Linked DNA regions of Homo sapiens: all the other regions are linked to region 1. The links are contacts of gene promoters, found by promoter capture Hi-C in human tissues and cell types (Jung and others, 2019). All regions are on one chromosome and are shown on one strand. Each heading gives the region's core, a stretch centred on a gene start or on the middle of the fragment in contact. The rest is flanking DNA. Distances are from core to core; before and after follow the strand shown. Region 1 holds the start of RPL10L (ribosomal protein L10 like). Region 2 has its middle 130 kb from the start of RPL10L. Region 3 has its middle 150 kb from the start of RPL10L. Region 4 overlaps MDGA2 (MAM domain containing glycosylphosphatidylinositol anchor 2).

Region 1 (4,045 bases), core at 105-2,604:
GGAGATTTAATTGTTTTATCTTTAGTATTTTGTAAAAATCCACTCACTTTAAGGGCAGGAGTTATTTTTCTCCCTTAAAACAAAGAGTATTGACAGAATATATTCACATTGGGGGGATTTTGTTCCATGATGTAATGGATTTGTGAAACAACATTAAAACAAAAAAGAAAACTAGAAAAATGCAAGTAGGGTTTGTAAACTATTAATTTCTTTTCCTCTCTCTTCTTCCTCCTTTCCTACACTCTGATCCCTGTCATAATATTTTTACAAACTCTGAGAAGAAAAAAAGTTTAAATTTATTCTCAGGGGCAAAAGATTACTAAAACACAAACTGTTACTCTTTTATATAGTTTCAGCAGCTTTAACATTTGAAAATGCAAATAGCCTTAAGTTAAAAAAAATCTAGTTGGTGTTTCAATTTTGTATATATCATTTTGATAATAAAATCATTTCTTTAGGCCAAATAAAGAAAAAACAAAGTTTCATGTTTATAAAACAATTGCCAAGCTACAGATACAACAGATATCTTCTCTTTATCCCTCTCTCTTCTCTTCCTCTCATCTCTTCCTGAGTCTCATCAAAGCACTCATGCCAAGAAACCACTTTATCCAGGGAAGGTGGCCACATAACCCAAGAAACAGCAATTGATCTACAAATGCTGACAGTGAGATACAAGCTCTGGAAAATGAACTGACCAAACTGGAAACAGCATGTTGAATAACTGGAAGGATTTTTCCTCTCAAATTCTAGGATTTCTTTTTTTCTTTTTCTTTAGACAGGGTCTCCCTCTGTCACTCAAGCTGGAGTGCAGTGGTGCTATCTCAGCTCACTGCAGTTTCTGCCTGCAGGGCCCAGGCGATCCTCCCACCTCAGCCTCCTGAGTAGCTGGGACTACAAGCATGTGCCACCATGCCCAGCTATTTGATATATATATATTTTTTTTTTTGTAGAGACAGCATTTCACTATATTGCCCAGGCTGGCCTCGAACTCCTGAGCTCAAGAGATTCTCCTGCCTGGAAATAACCTCTTTTATACTTAAAGCAAAGCTGAAAGCAAGAGTTCCTAGCCCAAGATGGCTAGCAGAAAGGAAGCAGCAGCTGTGCAGTTGGGGCGGGGCCCAATTCCTTCCCTGGCCGCCAGGGGGAGTCTACCCACAGCTGACTCTGCTCACCTTAAGCGCGCCACTTGGCGCAGGCGCTGAGGCGCCAGACGTCCCTGCGTCTCTGGTTGGGACGTCCTGAAAGAGAGTCGTCACATCCTCCTCAGGACTCTATGGTTCCGGCCTCAGGACTCTATGGTTCCCGCGAGGGACGAGGGGCAACGTATATAAATGCGCGCAGGCGTAGTTAAGAGAGCGCATTTTGACTTCGAGGCACCGCCGACGTTACTGTGTCGCCATGGGGCGCCGTCCAGCTCGCTGTTACCGGTATTGTAAGAACAAGCCGTACCCAAAATCTCGTTTCTGCCGAGGGGTTCCTGATGCCAAGATCCGCATCTTTGACCTGGGTAGAAAGAAGGCAAAAGTGGATGAGTTCCCACTCGGTGGCCACATGGTGTCTGATGAATATGAGCAGCTGTCTTCTGAAGCCCTGGAGGCCGCCCGTATTTGTGCCAACAAATACATGGTGAAAAGTTGTGGCAGAGATGGCTTTCACATGCGAGTGCGGCTCCATCCCTTCCATGTCATCCGCATCAACAAGATGTTGTCCTGTGCTGGGGCTGACAGGCTCCAGACAGGTATGCGAGGTGCCTTTGGAAAACCCCAGGGTACTGTAGCCCGGGTCCACATTGGTCAAGTCATCATGTCCATCCGCACCAAGCTTCAGAACGAGGAGCATGTGATTGAAGCCTTGCGCAGGGCCAAGTTCAAGTTCCCTGGACGCCAGAAGATTCATATCTCCAAGAAGTGGGGCTTCACGAAGTTTAATGCTGACGAATTTGAAGACATGGTGGCCAAGAAGTGCCTCATCCCTGATGGTTGTGGAGTCAAGTACGTTCCCAGTCATGGCCCCTTGGACAAGTGGCGGGTTCTGCACTCATGAAGGTTTTGGCAGTACTGTCTCCTTGGGCCATGCTGGTCTGACTTATGCTTACTAATAAATTCTGTTTACTGGCAAAAAATAACTCCTTATTAAGTTTTAATATTTTTTAAATATCCAATGTTTTAGAATATAGACTACTAGAGAATTTTTTTCTATTTATTCAGTTTTAATGGCAAATGTTACCTTCCTTGCTTCAGTAAAACTATACAATTTATAGAGAAAGCTGTTTTAAGCAAACACTTTAAATTTAGGAGAGTATAGAGCAATATGTTGAAAGTTTTGTTTGTAGTAAAGTCATAAGTTATGCAGCTATCATTCCTTGAATAAAAAATAGATTTGAGTGAAAAAATTTGTTTATAGAATATAAACTAAACAGTAGCGATGAAAATAATAGTAGGCATTAGTGATATTTCACCCACAGCCTCTTTGGAAGTAATTTATTTCTAAACTTGGTTGCCTTATGTTTTTCTATAAATTTCTGTACATTGTTTTTAGAATTACCTTACACGTCTGATTATCAGCCTTAGGACAATTGAGTATCACTCTGAAAGGCTTTTCCAGACGAACTTTACATTGTCTCACAGTCAAGAGATAACAGTCTAATCTTTTTTTCATCATAGAAAGGTCATAGGTGACAACAGAGTTCATATTACTTGTATCTGGGCTCCAGTAGAACCAAAAGAAGAGAGAAAATGACACTAAATCGGTTATCTGTGCTATAAAAGGACCCTAAAGAGAGTTTGCAATTGTAGGTGCTTGCCCTGAATTAGAGTTACGTTGATGACACAGGTGCTTTTTGTTTTATTTTTGAAACTACATAAGCTAAAATTCCTGAGTTTGTACTGCATTAAAAAAAATTCTTGTTCTTTACAATTGACTTAGCCTTTTGAATCTCAATCCTGCTAACAGTGCCTTCAGTGTTTTTAGACTAACGGTTCTTTTTCAAAGTCAACACATTTAATGAAAACAACAAAAGAAATAGTAAGAAACACTACTATTTAATTTTCATTTATTTAAAGAAATGCTATGTCAGTCTTAACATATTGTATCTGGCTGGATATTTATTTTAGGCCCTTGCTATAAGATATTTCCTATTTGTATATATTTAAGCTATGTTGCTATTTTAAGACGTTTTTCATGTTTGCGTTTTACCACACTTTCAAAAACGAAAATTCAACCTCTAAATAATAATAATAATCAAAAGAGAAAGGCAATACAAAACACAATAAAATCAGCAACCCCTTAGCTTCTAGTACAACCATGGCCCAGCTTTGAAAATATTTTCCATCTTCATTATTTCCCTTTCTCTTTGGTCTTAAACCTCTCAAAACATCTTGACCTTCAAACTTGGAACTCTGCACTCAACTAAATATATAGGGAGAGAGGTTAAGTATAAGCTCATGAACTTCCTTGCCCTAAGAGATTGGTAACAGTAATTGTTTATGCATATAGATATGGGAGTGAAGAGGAAATGAATGATTAAGAATTAATGCATTAAAAACTGGTAGGTAGCTGTCAATAAATTTTTTATTTGAATTTTCCCACAGTTTCACGTTATAAAGATTATATATAAATTCTTTTTTTAAACGTTGACATACAAGCACTTTTACTTGTTTTTGTTAAAAATCCTTCCTACTAATTTTCCCCAAGTCATTATTTTGTTTTTTCAGCATTTTCTTATTTTAGGGTCATTCTAATTATTTAAAAAAAAAATAGTAAGACAATTGGGCTGAAGGATCATTTAATTATAATTTTGCAGAGTTCGTTATTTTAAAATTTCTGCTCAAAATAGAAAATTGCATTTGGGAACATATTTCTGTTCATCTACTGCTGCAATAAAATGAACTGTTTGCTCGTTTTAAATAAAAGAATACAAGTGTAGTTAATGAAATTCCAGCAAATACTGCCCAATGAAACTTTTTTATTTAATTGATGAAATATATAGGTTTTAATGGAAAATACTGACTGAATAAGATGAAGAAAACTTCAGTAGGACTATGTA
Region 2 (4,497 bases), core at 117-2,616, 130 kb before region 1:
TTGCCATTGCTTTTGGTGTTTTAGACATGAAGTCCTTGCCCATGCCTATGTCCTGAATGGTATTGCCTAGGTTTTCTTCTAGGGTTTTTATGGTTTTAGGTCTAACATTTAAGTCTTTAATCCATCTTGAATTAATTTTTGTATAAGGTGTAAGGAAGGGATCCAGTTCAGCTTTCTACATATGACAAGCCAGTTTTCCCAGCACCATTTATTAAATAGGGAATCCTTTCCCCATTTCTTGTTTTGTTTTGTCAGGTTTGTCAAAGATCAGATAGTTGTAGATATGTGGCATTATTTCTGAGGGCTCTGTACTGTGCCATTGGTCTATATCTCTGTTTTGGTGCCAGTACCATGCTGTTTTGGTTACTGTAGCCTTGTAGTATAGTTTGAAGTCAGGTAGCGTGGTGCCTCCACCTTTGTTCTTTTGGCTTAGGATTGACTTGGCAATGTGGGCTCTTTTTTGATTCCATATGAACTTTAAAGTAGTTTTTTCCAATCTGTGAAGAAAGTGGTAGCTTGATGGGGATGGCATTGAATCTATAAATTGCCTTGGGCAGTATGGCCATTTTCACAATATTGATTCTTCCAAGTGGGCAAAGGATATGAACAGACACTTCTCAAAAGAAGACATTTATGCAGCCAACAGACACATGAAAAAATGCTTATCATCACTGGTCATCAGAGAAATGCAAATCAAAACCACGATGAGGTACCATCTCACACCAGTTAGAATGGCGATCATTAAAAAGTCAGGAAACAACAGGTGCTAGAGAGGATGTGGAGAAATAGGAACACTTTTACACTGTTGGTGGGACTGTAAACTAGTTCACCCATTGTGGAAGTCAGTGTGGCAATTCCTCAGGGATCTAGAACTAGCAATACCATTTGACCCAGCCATCCCATTACTGGTATATACCCAAAGGATTATAAAACATGCTGCTATAAAGACACATGCACACATATGTTTATTGCGGCACTATTCACAATAGCAAAGACTTGGAACCCACCCAAATGTCCAACAATGATAGACTGGATTAAGAAAATGTGGCACATATACACCATGGAATACTATGCAGCCATAAAAAAGGATGAGTTCAAGTCCTTTGTAGGGACATGGATGAAGCTGGAAACCATCATTCTCGCAAACTATCACAAGGACAAAAAACCACCACATGTTCCCACTCATAGGTGGGAATTGAACAATGAGAACACATGGACACAAGAAGGGGAACATCACACACTAGGGCCTGTTGTGGGGTGGGTGGAGCGGGGAGGGATAGCATTAGGAGATATACCTAATGTTAAATGATGAGTTAATGGGTGCAGGACACCAACATGGCACATGTATACATATGTAACAAACCTGCATGTTGTGAACATGTGCCCTAAAACTTAAAGTATAATAAAAAAAATAGAAAAGAGAAGATATTTTAAGTTATATTTTTTCCTCTGTTCTTCAGAGCTACTTCTTATTTTGGGGCTACTTTTTTTAATTGTGTAATTCACAAGGGACTGCATTTTTAAAAATAAGGCTTTAACCATGGCTGGATGTTTTGCTCTAGTCTTCTAAGAAGGGCCATTTTATTTTTTATAGTCACTTCTAAAGTCATGTGGTCATTAACTTTGGAGACTGTTTTGCATATGAGTGCTAATACAAGTTAAAACCCAAGTAGACCTCATTACATGTCACCCTATGAATGCTGACAATGGAAGGAATACTTTGCCTGTAGTATACTGTCATTTCTGGACTGAAAAGCTGAGGAAGAAACTTAATTTTCTTTTATGCATGAGTCAGAAAATCTACAGTTAATGTTCCCAGTTTCCTGACTGACCTCAGCAGCTGAAGTGAACAGATAGTGTTAACTCAGATTGAAGAAATTATCTGAATCTTGGTTTGTGTAGATTTACAATCTACATGCAATATTAACTAAATCAGATAGCTTTTAGAGTTTCACATGTGTATATAGGTTCCCTCCCAGTCCCTTCCATACCCATTAGTTATTGAACTTTCTAAACTGGCATTAAAACATTACAACAATTTTTTGTTGTACCAATTTTACAAATTTATGCAGAATATTACTTGTTATTTTTCTGAGGCAAACCAGTGGTAAATTTCTCAAGGTTCTTGCTGCCTTCTTTAGCAGCATTTGATGGAGGATCTCTTATACATTTGTAATAGACAAAAATAAACCAGATTGCAAATCCTTTTTAAGAATCTTAAACCATGTACCAAGTTTTTGGTCCAAATTTTGTAGGATAAGTTAAACTTAAATTTTACTCTATTAACCAATATGAGTGTATTTCTGAAAGCATAGTTACGTTGAAATAAAGTTTTAAAAAGCGAAAATATGAAAGAAGAATCAGTATGAAAAATATCTATACTTTATGTATATTTTATATATGCATGGCCACTCTAGGAATGTTTTAATAAGGCAGAATTTTGTTTAATCATGATATGTGTTATGATAAAATATTTGCTCTCAACCAATTCTAAAACATAAAAGGAAATTTCTCACTTTCTATATTAAAAGTCAAAATATAAAATAACAAAAGAAAGAGTTAAAATTAAGCAAAAAATATGATACATGACCAAACCGTGTAACAATTATATATACCCAACTTTAGTAATATATTTGTTTACATTTATTGTGCACTCTCTATGTGTGAGAAATTATATGGAAATTATATGTTCATTTACTTCTCACTGTTTCTTTGCTTTGCATGTGGTAGTAACTGTCTATAAACTTGAGGGTACACAAACACTTCATTTATAGCTTTTTAATTTAAACTAATTTTAGACTTATGAAGAATTGCAAAAGTAGCACAGAGATTTCTCTTATATCTCTGACACTACTTCCCCTAATGTTAACATCATTCAAAATCATAGTACAATTGTTAAGAAGTGTCTGAAAGTAAAAAAAAAAAAAAAAAATAGTCCCAGACGAATAGACCAAAATATTTTTTCCCAGTTTTATCCTTAGAAGAAATTAGCATTCCCAACAAAGTCTTTAAATATTTTCTGATAACTTTTCTTGTAATTAAGATATGCTCTGTCAAAGAGTTACCCACTCAGCTTATTAAGTCTCAATTATCAGGTCTTTAACCATTATTTCTTGTGTGTTTAATCTAATCATGATTAAACACATGATTAAGCTTCTCTTGCCTTGTGGAATGCCCTATTAATAATATATCATTATTTATTAATTGATGTTATATTATTATAATCTATTAATTGTAAATATTTTAATTGTTTTTCTATGGCTCTTATCCATTGAATGTAAGATTGTGAAAAACTTGGACACATACCAATAACTAAATTTCTGAATGATTTTTCTTTATTAGAAGAAGGGAAATAATTTTCCAGTTCTTCTTTTCTATCAGTACCATTTCCTGGATTTATATGCCTTAGGAATCAAGGCAAGGCAAAAGAAAGAATAGTGTATATGTTTCCTCTAGGTGCAAAATCTCTGAGATGGCCAAGTTACTGAGTGACGAACATTTTGCAAATCTAGTAGTTTCTTAATCTTTGCTTTTAGCAGTATTGGAGAATCAGTTTTGTTGGATAGTCAACCACTAATGATAATTTAATAATAAATGGGCTTTATTAATTGTATAAATATGACAATTGGTTAATATAATAATAGATTACTATGTTATTTTTGACAACTCTAAAGCAGTTAAAACAGAGAAAAATGTTGATTTAACAAATCTCTTCTTTAATGTGAATGAGTTTTCTAAGTTATTACATCTATAAAAATATACAGGAATAGAACTGATGGTGAGCTTAGTCCCATTTGTGCAATTATAACTTGTAAAATGTCAAATTACGACTCTCAAATATAAAATGAACACTTGTCAATTTTTTTCAACTCATTAATTAATGAGAGAGCCAGTAACACTCTTCACTTGAGAGTTTGACTAAAAATATTTATGTTCTTTATGAGAAAACATACTTTTTCACCACTTTGGACACAAATTGTTTGCATTGCCATCATTTAAAAAATAATTTTAACTTCTGACCCTACAAAGCTGTAAAATAACCTAGTTAATAAAAGCTATACAAAGTAATACACCACCATGGAACTAGACAATAACTGGATGATTGGCAAGAGAACAACATCTCTCCTTTGGTAGAACGGACAGTAATCTCTTTTGCCTATTTCTAAGTCTTAAGAAAGTTTTTTATGACAGATGCTTGCAAGAAGTAATATTATATCAATAGATAATGATCTAGAAAAAAATACCTCAATCATTTAAAAGATATATTTCCAGTAAAATTTTGCTTGATCTCTTTTATAATTATTTATCAAACAATATGCCTATGTTGCTTTGATCAAATAATTTTTTAAAATTTCTGACTAATTTTTTTGCCATCCAAGAGTTACTCAGGAGCAAGTTGTTTAATTTCCATTTATTTGGGTAGCTTTAAGAGCCATTCTTGATTTATATTTATATTGCACTGTGATCCATAAATGTGCTTGGTATAATTTTGATTTT
Region 3 (4,468 bases), core at 1,800-4,299, 150 kb before region 1:
AGGGTCCTTGAAATCCCCTCCTTTTCTAGAATATCTAATGACTATTCCACCCCCTAATTAAAGAAACACCTATAAAATAGGAATGCTGGGTGGTCACAGGAGAAGTGGGAAACATATCAGCAGTAATTTCACATAACAGCAAGAAAGGAGTTGTTAACATTAGCTACAAGGACGACGATGAGTTCTGGGCTGATATGATCCTAACAAAACAGGGTGGGGCCTAAGCTAGTTGAAACTGGCTGGGTCCAACATAGTGTTGGGTTTGACCCATGCCATATCACAGACTTAATTATGTGCTTATTACCATACTAAATCACACATCCACCAGTATCATGACAGATCCGAGCATGCCTATATTGAGTATAAGAATTAGTGGCATCTCAATTGTAAGAAATCTCCACCTTTTCCCTAGAAAACCTCATGATTATTCCACTCCCTAATTAGAAGAGCCCATAAAATTAGAAACCCAAACTCCATTGTGCATGACTTACTCTCCCAAATACACCTGCATTCCCACTCTTGAGTGTGTACTTTCAGTTTGCAATAAACGCTTCTTGCCTTTTGCTTCATTCTAACTTGTCTCTGAATGCTTTCTTGGGGCAGTTTCAAGAACCTGGAACACCACGCTGGGGTTAGTGATCTCACCAGTACCTGGAGACGCACCTAAGCCCTCTGGCAACATATACATGAAACAAAATCCCTAAGTTAGTAACAAGGAAGGAGATAATGGATGCTGAATAACATACCAAACTACATGTCAGTGCATTTGATAATCACAACACTCTGAGCTGGTGTTTAAGTAAACTAGTAATAGTAATTTTAAAAACCTACTCACTTAGTTAAAATGCTTTATTTTTAGCATTTTCCTTACTTAGTATTCCTAAAATATAACATTGAATTCCCTGAATTCCCTAGCAACAGAGAATCATATCTTTAGTATTAAATAAGTAATGAAAATTGGAATTTATAAAGCTTACGGGTTATTTCTTTTAAACAACTTTGTATGACATAAGTGACACATTGCTGATTAAAGGAGTTTTTGATTTTGGCAAAGGTGTTGCCCTGTTAAAGCTTAAATATAAGTCTAACATTAGAAGAGAGACATGAAGTTCAAAAATAAATTATTCAAGAATGATAAAAATATATTATAAGAAAATATAACTACAGGGTATATAATGGACTTAGACACAAAGATTACAAACAACATGTCAGGAAGTCCAATCTAGCAATGTATAAAGGTGTAATACATCCTGACAAGTGGGTTTATATAGGAAATGTAGAGTTGATTCAACATGTGAAAAACAATATAATTAAACATACAAAAAAGGAAAAAATAATAATTTCATTAAATGCAGAAAATGTCAATATCAACGTATTATAAATTCCTTCACCTGATAAAGGCTATCTATTAAAAACAAAGCTTATAGCTCACATTATAGATAACAGTGAAACCCTTTCTCCCAAAAATAGTAAACAAGGAAAGAATATTCAATCGCTCCACTCCTATTCAACATTATCCTGGAGGCTCTGGACTGTACAATAAAATACGAAAAAGGAGTAAAAGGCATACATTTGGAAAGGAAGATATAAACTGTTTCTATGCACAGGCAAAATAATTGTCTGCATAGAGAAATCCAAAGATACAAAAATTAGTTACTACAAATATTGTGAGCTTAATGAAGTCAATATATTTAAGATATATATATGACAATCAATTATATTTCTACATAATAGCAATGAACAACTGGAAATTAAAATTGAAAAAGCAATAATATTTATAATAGTACGGAAAAACATGAAATAAGTATACATAGCACCAAAAATGTAAACATCTCTATGCTGAAAACTACAAAATATTCATGAAAGAAATCCAAAAGATTGAAATTAATGGAGAGATTTGTAAGTTCAAAGATAGGAAGACTCACCATTCTCGAGAAGTTGTTAAGAAACTAAATTTTTGTACAAATTTAATGCATTACAATCAAAATTTTAGGGGGACTTCTTTTGTAAAAATTTACAAGCTGATTCTAAAATTTACATGAAAAATAAAAAACTATAATAGTCAAGACAATTTTGAAAAAGAAAAAAATGAGAGCACACACTACTTCAAAACAGTGTTAATCAAGACAGTGTAGTATTGGTAAAAGTATGGATACATAAATATGTGTGACAGAATAGAGTAACCTACTATAAACCCACACATATAAAGTCAACTGAGTTTTGACAAATATGCCAAGATAATTTAATAAAGAAAAGACAAATCTTTGCAATATACAGTGCTAGCTTCTGGTGATAAACTATTTATAATCCTATCATATGCAAAATACATTCATTTCTTTCCAAGTTTCCAAAGTCTTATCCCATTATATAACTAGCAAAAAGTTCCTTATCTTGCCATTTATATCAGTTCCATATGGAGAAGCTGCTGCCTCACTTTAGTTTCTTAGATACAGTTACTGAAGTATGACCTAAGGTATAAACAGACGTGATGCCCACCCACTCTCCACACACAGTAGTGGGACAGATATACAATAACTATTATAGACATTCCTGTTCACAAAGGGAAAAATGGAAATAACAAAATCATTAATTCATGCTCATTTTGAAAGTCATCCAAACAAGTGTTAGAAGGTCCTTGATTATAACTCATGATAGTCTTTCTAAGAAATAATGCTTCCTGACAATTGTCTTTGCCTTCTGGGGCTTTTTATTATGCTTTTTGGGCTCTTGGTTTCTCCCTCTCAATCATCCTTCTTTTCTGTAAAAGTAACCCATGTTTGCTGGTGCATAATTTACTTAGGCTGCTTCCTGCTGGTCAAATTTTGGGAATCCAAAAACTTTTCGCTTTTTACCACCTTCATGTCTTAATTGTAAATTCACAGTGTTTAGTGAATGTAATTGTTTTCAAATTTCGTAGGTCCCAGATGAATAATACTGGGGTTCACTTCATTCTCAAAACTTATACTCACAAATTTCTTCAAGATAAGTCTTCTCTACATAGGACTTCTACTGTGACAGCAAGGACAGTGCCTTTAAGCTTCTTAGAAAACCTATCATTTGTTTGAAAGGATCCATGAGATGATTAATTAAATTCTTGAATGGATCTTTTGTTTGAGGCAAGACCATTGATATGTCTGAGATCCTAACAACACATTTTACATTCATGCCTTTGGTTTCATATTTAGACAATGATTTTCTTACAGTGAACTGTATTTGACCATTTCTTGGAAGCCATTGCTTGATTTTTAACATGTTTTGCTTTTTGGGAAGTCTGATAATTTTCAATGCTATTAAACCTCTAATTATTATTGTTTTAGAGCATTTCCATTGTTTATCTCTTTCCTCTCACATTTTACTGTAAGCAGTAAGAAGCCACCAGAAAGCACGTTCAACACTGAGAGTGGGAATGTCCTTAGCTAGGTAATCCAGTTCATTAGGAGTGTTTTTTATGTTAAATATTATTAGAGAGGACAGTATTTCTAACTCCCACCATGTAACAAGTATCCAGTCTCCTCCAATTTAAAATTTTTCCCACTTTCCTTTAAGTCCTCACTTATAGCCTCCCAAAAGTCCATGGTGCTTCTACAGACACTTTATTCTAGGCTTTTTCAGCTTTTATAAACCCTCTCAAATGTTCCCAGCTTCTTCCCAATGTTCAGTTTAATAGTCATTGTCACAGTATAGAGTTATTTTGTGGCAGTTCCTCACTTTTAGGCATAAAAATGTGTATTAGTAATCTATTGCTGTATAACATGTTATTCATGTTATACTATATCAATATCAATTATAAATTCCTAAATATATTATAAATTCCCAATATATTATAAATTCCTAAATAAAAACTAGCAGCTTTAATAACTGAATATTATATCATTGTTTCTGTGAGTAGGAATTCAGAAGAAGCTTACTGGATAGTTCTGAATCAGAGTCTCTCATGCGGTTATAGTCATTTGTTGGACAGGGCTGCTGTCATCTAATGGCTTATCTGGACTAAAGAATGTGTTTAAAGGTAACTCACTCACATGACTGTTGGCAGGATGCCTCAGTTCCTCAATTCTTGTTGGCAAAAGGCGTTAGTTTTTTAACAGGTAGGACTATTTTTACAACATGGCAGCTAATTTCTTCTCAAATGTGAATGACTGAGAAGAAAGCTATGGTACCTCTTATGACCTACTCTCCAAAGTCACACTCCATCATTGTCACTTTATTCTTTAGAACCAAGTCATAAGTCCATTTCACATTCAAGAGCATCAATACAAGGCTCCATATATTAAAAAAGGAATATCAATGAATTTGTGGTTATATTTGAAAACCACCACACAGCCCTCTTGTGGAGACTTCAGTTGCTTTAATTATACACATATTAGTCTGCTTGAAGTTGCCCACAGCTCAATGATAGTCTATTCGTTTTTTCTATGCATTTCCTTTTGGATACTTTCTATTGCTATGTCTTTAAATTTGTTACTTT
Region 4 (4,512 bases), core at 590-3,089, 190 kb before region 1:
TTTGGAATGACCAAAGCAGATATTTCCTTTTAACATGTAAATATTTTTCTAGAACTGTATACCCACCACTAAATGCATGAATTGCCTTACAGTATCAAAAAGATTAAAGTTTTGCTGAAAGCAAGGAATAATTTGGGAGCCATAAAGAAAATTCTAAAAGAGTCCTGTTTCTGTAAAAATAAAAAATATATAAATTTGCTAATTGTGCTTCTATTGTCATTGTTTTAAGTATTTAATAATAAAGGATTCTGATTGTACTCATTTATTCTTTCAATATTCATGCACTGAGCCTCAGTGACCACCATTGTTATAGACACCATAAATTCAAAGGTATACCGTGAGATATTCAACATAAATAGACTGATACATATCTTCAAGTTTAAAAAAATGGAATATCAGCAGTGAAATCATGGAGGTAAATTATAAAGTCAACATGGGAATATGACGAACCTATTCAATCTATTTGTGAGAAATCAATGTCAGAGATAGAAACACTTTGTTCCGGGCTTCAATATACATATTACTGTTGTAAAGAATTCAGAATTGATTCATTCTTTAAAATATTTCTAGAAAACTAATGTTATGAGTTATGTTCAGATAAAACCAGAAAGAATCTATCTCAGAGAAAGACTTTTCAAATAAAACATTTTTTCTTATCCTTAAAAATTAAAAGAGGATGTGTAGTCATTTTTTTTAATTGTATTATTTAATTAAGTTTAGTTTTGCTTTAAAATCGACACAGAGCTTTTGATGTGAAAAACTAATACAATGCAAGGAAGATTCAATTACTGGTTTTGGGATGAAAGTTTATGTTTTCTGCAAGTTTTAATTTTGAAAGCCATCAAATATAAAAGATGCCAGGATTACTGACAAGTTTATTTTTGTCACCTTGATTTCTCAAGAGAAACTGATCTGCAAATCAAAGCTCCACATTTAGGTTTGTTTCATTCATATTTGTAGCTCATTTTTGAAGGTATCCGAGGTCCTGGAATAGAAGGTGACATTGCTATTGATGATGTATCAATTGCAGAAGGAGAATGTGCAAAACAAGACCTAGCAACTAAGAGTAAGTATCTTTGCTTGAGATTGGTTTGTTGTAACGTTAAAGTAACATTACTATTAAATTAACATTTAATTTAATTAATTTTAAAAACGGAGTTATTTTTAGTTGGTTTATTTAGAAATTTCTTATATGTAATACCCTAAAGTTTGTTCAGTTATTTTTAAAGTATTAAATTCAATTGTAGACATATTTGGCCTAAGATAAAATAGAAGTGAGATTTTGATTTAGATCTACGTAAGGCAAGTACACTTTGATTTTTAATTAAGATTTTAAAACACTTTGATATTATTTGTTTTAGAAGATTTAAAAACTTGTATTAAAATATTTGATGAACCTATATACATAGCACATATTTACAATGTAAATTGTATTAGTCAATCTTCATACTGCTATAAAGAACTGCCCAACACTGGGTAATTTATAAAAGAAAGAGATTTAATTGACTCACAGTTCAGCAAGGCTGGGAGGCCTAAGGAAACTCACAATCATGGCGGAAGGTGAAGGGGAAGCAGAGTACCTTCTTCACAAGGCAGCAAGGAGAATTGCTGAGAGAAGGGGGAAGTGCCCCTTATAAAATCATCAGATCGGCCGGGCGCGGTGGCTCACGCCTGTAATCCCAGCACTTTGGGAGGCCGAGGCGGGTGGATCACAAGGTCAGGAGATCAAGACCATCCTGGCTAAGACGGTGAAACCCCGTCTCTATTTAAAAATACAAAGAAAAAATATTAGCCGGGCGTGTAGTCCCTGTAGTCCCAGCTACTCGGGAGGCCGAGGCAGGAGATTGGCGTGAACGCGGGAGGCGGAGCTTGCAGTGAGCCAAGATCACGCCACTGCACTCCAGCCTGGGCGACAGAGCAAGAGTCTGTCTCAAAAACATAATAATAATAATAATAATAAAAATCATCAGATCTAGTGAAAACTCACTTTCATGAGAAGAGCATAGGGGAAGAGCCCCCATGATTCAGTTACCTCCACCTGGTCTCTCACTTGAAACATGGGGATTATGCGGATTATATTTCAAGATGAGATTTGGTCTCTCCCTTGAAACATGGGGATTATGCAGATTATATTTCAAGATGAGACTTGTGTGAGGACACAAAGCCTTACCATGTCAGCATAGATGCTTTCATTCGTCCAGTTTGTGAATATAGTGAATATATTTCCTGATTTAGCCAATTTTTTTTTTTGAGACGGAGTTTTGCTCTTGTTGCCCAGGCTGGAGTGCAACAGTGCAATCTCTGCTCACTGCAATCTCCGCCTCCCGGGTTCAAGTGATTCTCTTGCCTCAGCCTCCTGAGTAGCTGGGATTACAGACTCGCGGCACCACACCCCGCTAATTTTTTGTATTTTTAGTAGAGACGCGGTTTCACCATGTTGGCCAGGCTGGTCTCGAACTCCCGACCTCAGGTGGTCCACCTGCCTCGGCCTCCCAAACTGCTGGGATTACAGGCGTGAGCCACTGTGCCTGGCCTTTTGCCAGCCATTTTAACAGATTCAGCATTGTAAAGAGCCTAAATACATATATTAAGTAATGAAGTAGACCTCATATTTATGGTCTAATCTCCTATCTGCACCACAAGCTTGTTTAATAATTTGATTTTCACTTTATACCCTTTTTTGAGTATTATGGTTTAATGATATATTTAATTTTATTTTTTTGTCACAGGTCCATTTTATAATAGAAGAGATATAAATAAAACATGATGAATAATGCACAAAGATTTAGAATTATGTATTTAGCTGCTTCTTAAAGTCCTCATCTCCATATTTCACATTCGAAGCTATGAAATCTAAAATCATTCCTGTTAAAAATGACTGCAATTGAAGGATTATCTTAGACTCATCTGGAATCTTTTATTTTGTGGTCATATATAGAGAAAGTAATCAAACTAAATTTACACAAATTACTCATCAATTATTTAGCACATACAAAAGCATGAAAATCTATGTTGTATAAATCTAGAGCAAATCAGAGTCTTTGGTAATTTTCTATATTTAGTGAGAAACTGTACCAGTCTAGATGTTGAAAGTTGAATGTGTACAATTGTCCACTGATTACTCATATGAACTGAATTGACTCAATTCTTAAGTATTGTCAAAAGACAAAAACTAAGATTTTTATATAACAATGAGCCATTTTGCTCATTGTTATATAAAATGAAAATATATTAAAAAGTCATAAACTTAGTATTTCAAGTAACATATTTAGTAAAAATGTATCCTTGTGTCTGTCTAGTTCTGCTTTAGAAAACCAGTAGCTATACTCAAAAGAACAGTTTTTCTAATGCACAGGAAAACATGTATTCTCCTCAAAGGAGAATAGGATTTCTTTTGAATTTCATAGTATGACTGAGTGGCAGTAACATTTTATTAATTGAAGGCAGTTACAACTATATACAGAAATTTTACATTTTCATAATGTAAGCACAAATATTATAAATAAATTCAATAAATTGAATTAAACTTTTCAAAGGAAGAAAGCAAAGGAAATTATTTACTCCCTAGTGCAGAAAGAAAGCATAACTGATAAAACTAGCCACAGTAAATGCCTGTGAAAGCCCATAGGGACTTCATTACTGTACAAGTTCTATTACAATAGAACATTTTTATAATTAGTTTTTTTTTTCTCTTAAACTAGCAAATCCAAGAAATGTGTGGCAGTTTTAAATATGAAAACACCCCCTGTATGTATTGGGTGTATTTATATTTAAACTCTATAAATTAGGGGAAATAAATAATCTTAATTGAACACAAATAATCTATTTGGCATCAGAAAGTTTTCTGTTACATTTGTGTCATTTAATTACCATTTATTAAGTTCATTTTATGACTAGCATTTGATTGATTGATGATTATTAAATGAATATTATATTCTAAGTACAGACCAGCCTGAAGGCTGAAAGCCTCTTCCTGATTCCTCAGGCTGCCAGTTCTTTCCAGGCAATAAATGGAACTATGGTCCACACCATGCAGATATAAGATTGTATGTCTCAATTTTCAAACTCAATTCTCCCCTAGATACAAGCCACTTTGCAACTTTAGCTAGTTTAATGAATTATATCTGTGTTATCCCTCCACAGTAAGGCATGCATTCTAAGAGGCATCAACTGGACACCAGGTTTTAACAGAAATCCCAATTACAGTAGGACTTTCCAGGCCGATTGGTGGAAGGGATTTTTTAGTTTGAATGGACTTCATCATGCCTCTAAAAGTTAAAATAAAGAGAAAATTATTTGTATAATTTATAGATAATGGACCGATCTAAACATGGATCATCTACTAGTTGCAATAGTTAATTTCTGTACACATAACCATCCCTTTCTAGTTTTCATTAAGATAGATTTTCTTTCAGTCTTCAAGCTTATCCACTTCGGGAAGCTTGAAAAAAAATCTACTTTTTGAAGTATTCTGATAATTTTCTCCATGTTCCTGCTTTCCTGTGGCTAGCA

The links. The method cuts DNA at HindIII sites, captures the fragments that hold promoters and counts their contacts. A contact is called where the count stands out against the background at its distance.
Region 2: a contact is called between a fragment that was not itself captured here and the fragment with the promoter of RPL10L in region 1, in 2 of the 25 tissues and cell types used here (stomach and thymus).
Region 3: a contact is called between a fragment that was not itself captured here and the fragment with the promoter of RPL10L in region 1, in 2 of the 25 tissues and cell types used here (dorsolateral prefrontal cortex and pancreas).
Region 4: a fragment that was not itself captured here is called in contact with the fragment with the promoter of RPL10L in region 1 in 2 of the 25 tissues and cell types used here (dorsolateral prefrontal cortex and mesendoderm cells).

Annotation. Positions count from the first base shown.
Region 1 is chr14:46,649,090-46,653,134 of GRCh38, reverse strand. It overlaps RPL10L (ribosomal protein L10 like), which reads left to right and starts at 1,354. Exons shown (of 1, transcript NM_080746.3): 1 at 1,354-2,125. The coding sequence starts at 1,399. The coding sequence ends at 2,043. The region is part of intron 3 of LOC105370481 (a long non-coding RNA gene); the gene reads left to right. The HindIII fragment of the contact is 6,030 bases long and covers 1-4,045 here.
Region 2 is chr14:46,783,304-46,787,800 of GRCh38, reverse strand. No RefSeq gene overlaps it. Among named protein-coding and RNA genes, the nearest start is that of RPL10L, 130 kb to the right of the region's middle. The HindIII fragment of the contact is 5,792 bases long and covers 1-4,262 here.
Region 3 is chr14:46,802,404-46,806,871 of GRCh38, reverse strand. No RefSeq gene overlaps it. Among named protein-coding and RNA genes, the nearest start is that of RPL10L, 150 kb to the right of the region's middle. The HindIII fragment of the contact is 3,605 bases long and covers 1,247-4,468 here.
Region 4 is chr14:46,842,320-46,846,831 of GRCh38, reverse strand. MDGA2 (MAM domain containing glycosylphosphatidylinositol anchor 2) reads left to right here. Exons shown (of 17, transcript NM_001113498.3): 16 at 961-1,066. Among named protein-coding and RNA genes, the nearest start is that of RPL10L, 190 kb to the right of the region's middle. The HindIII fragment of the contact is 8,716 bases long and covers 1-4,512 here.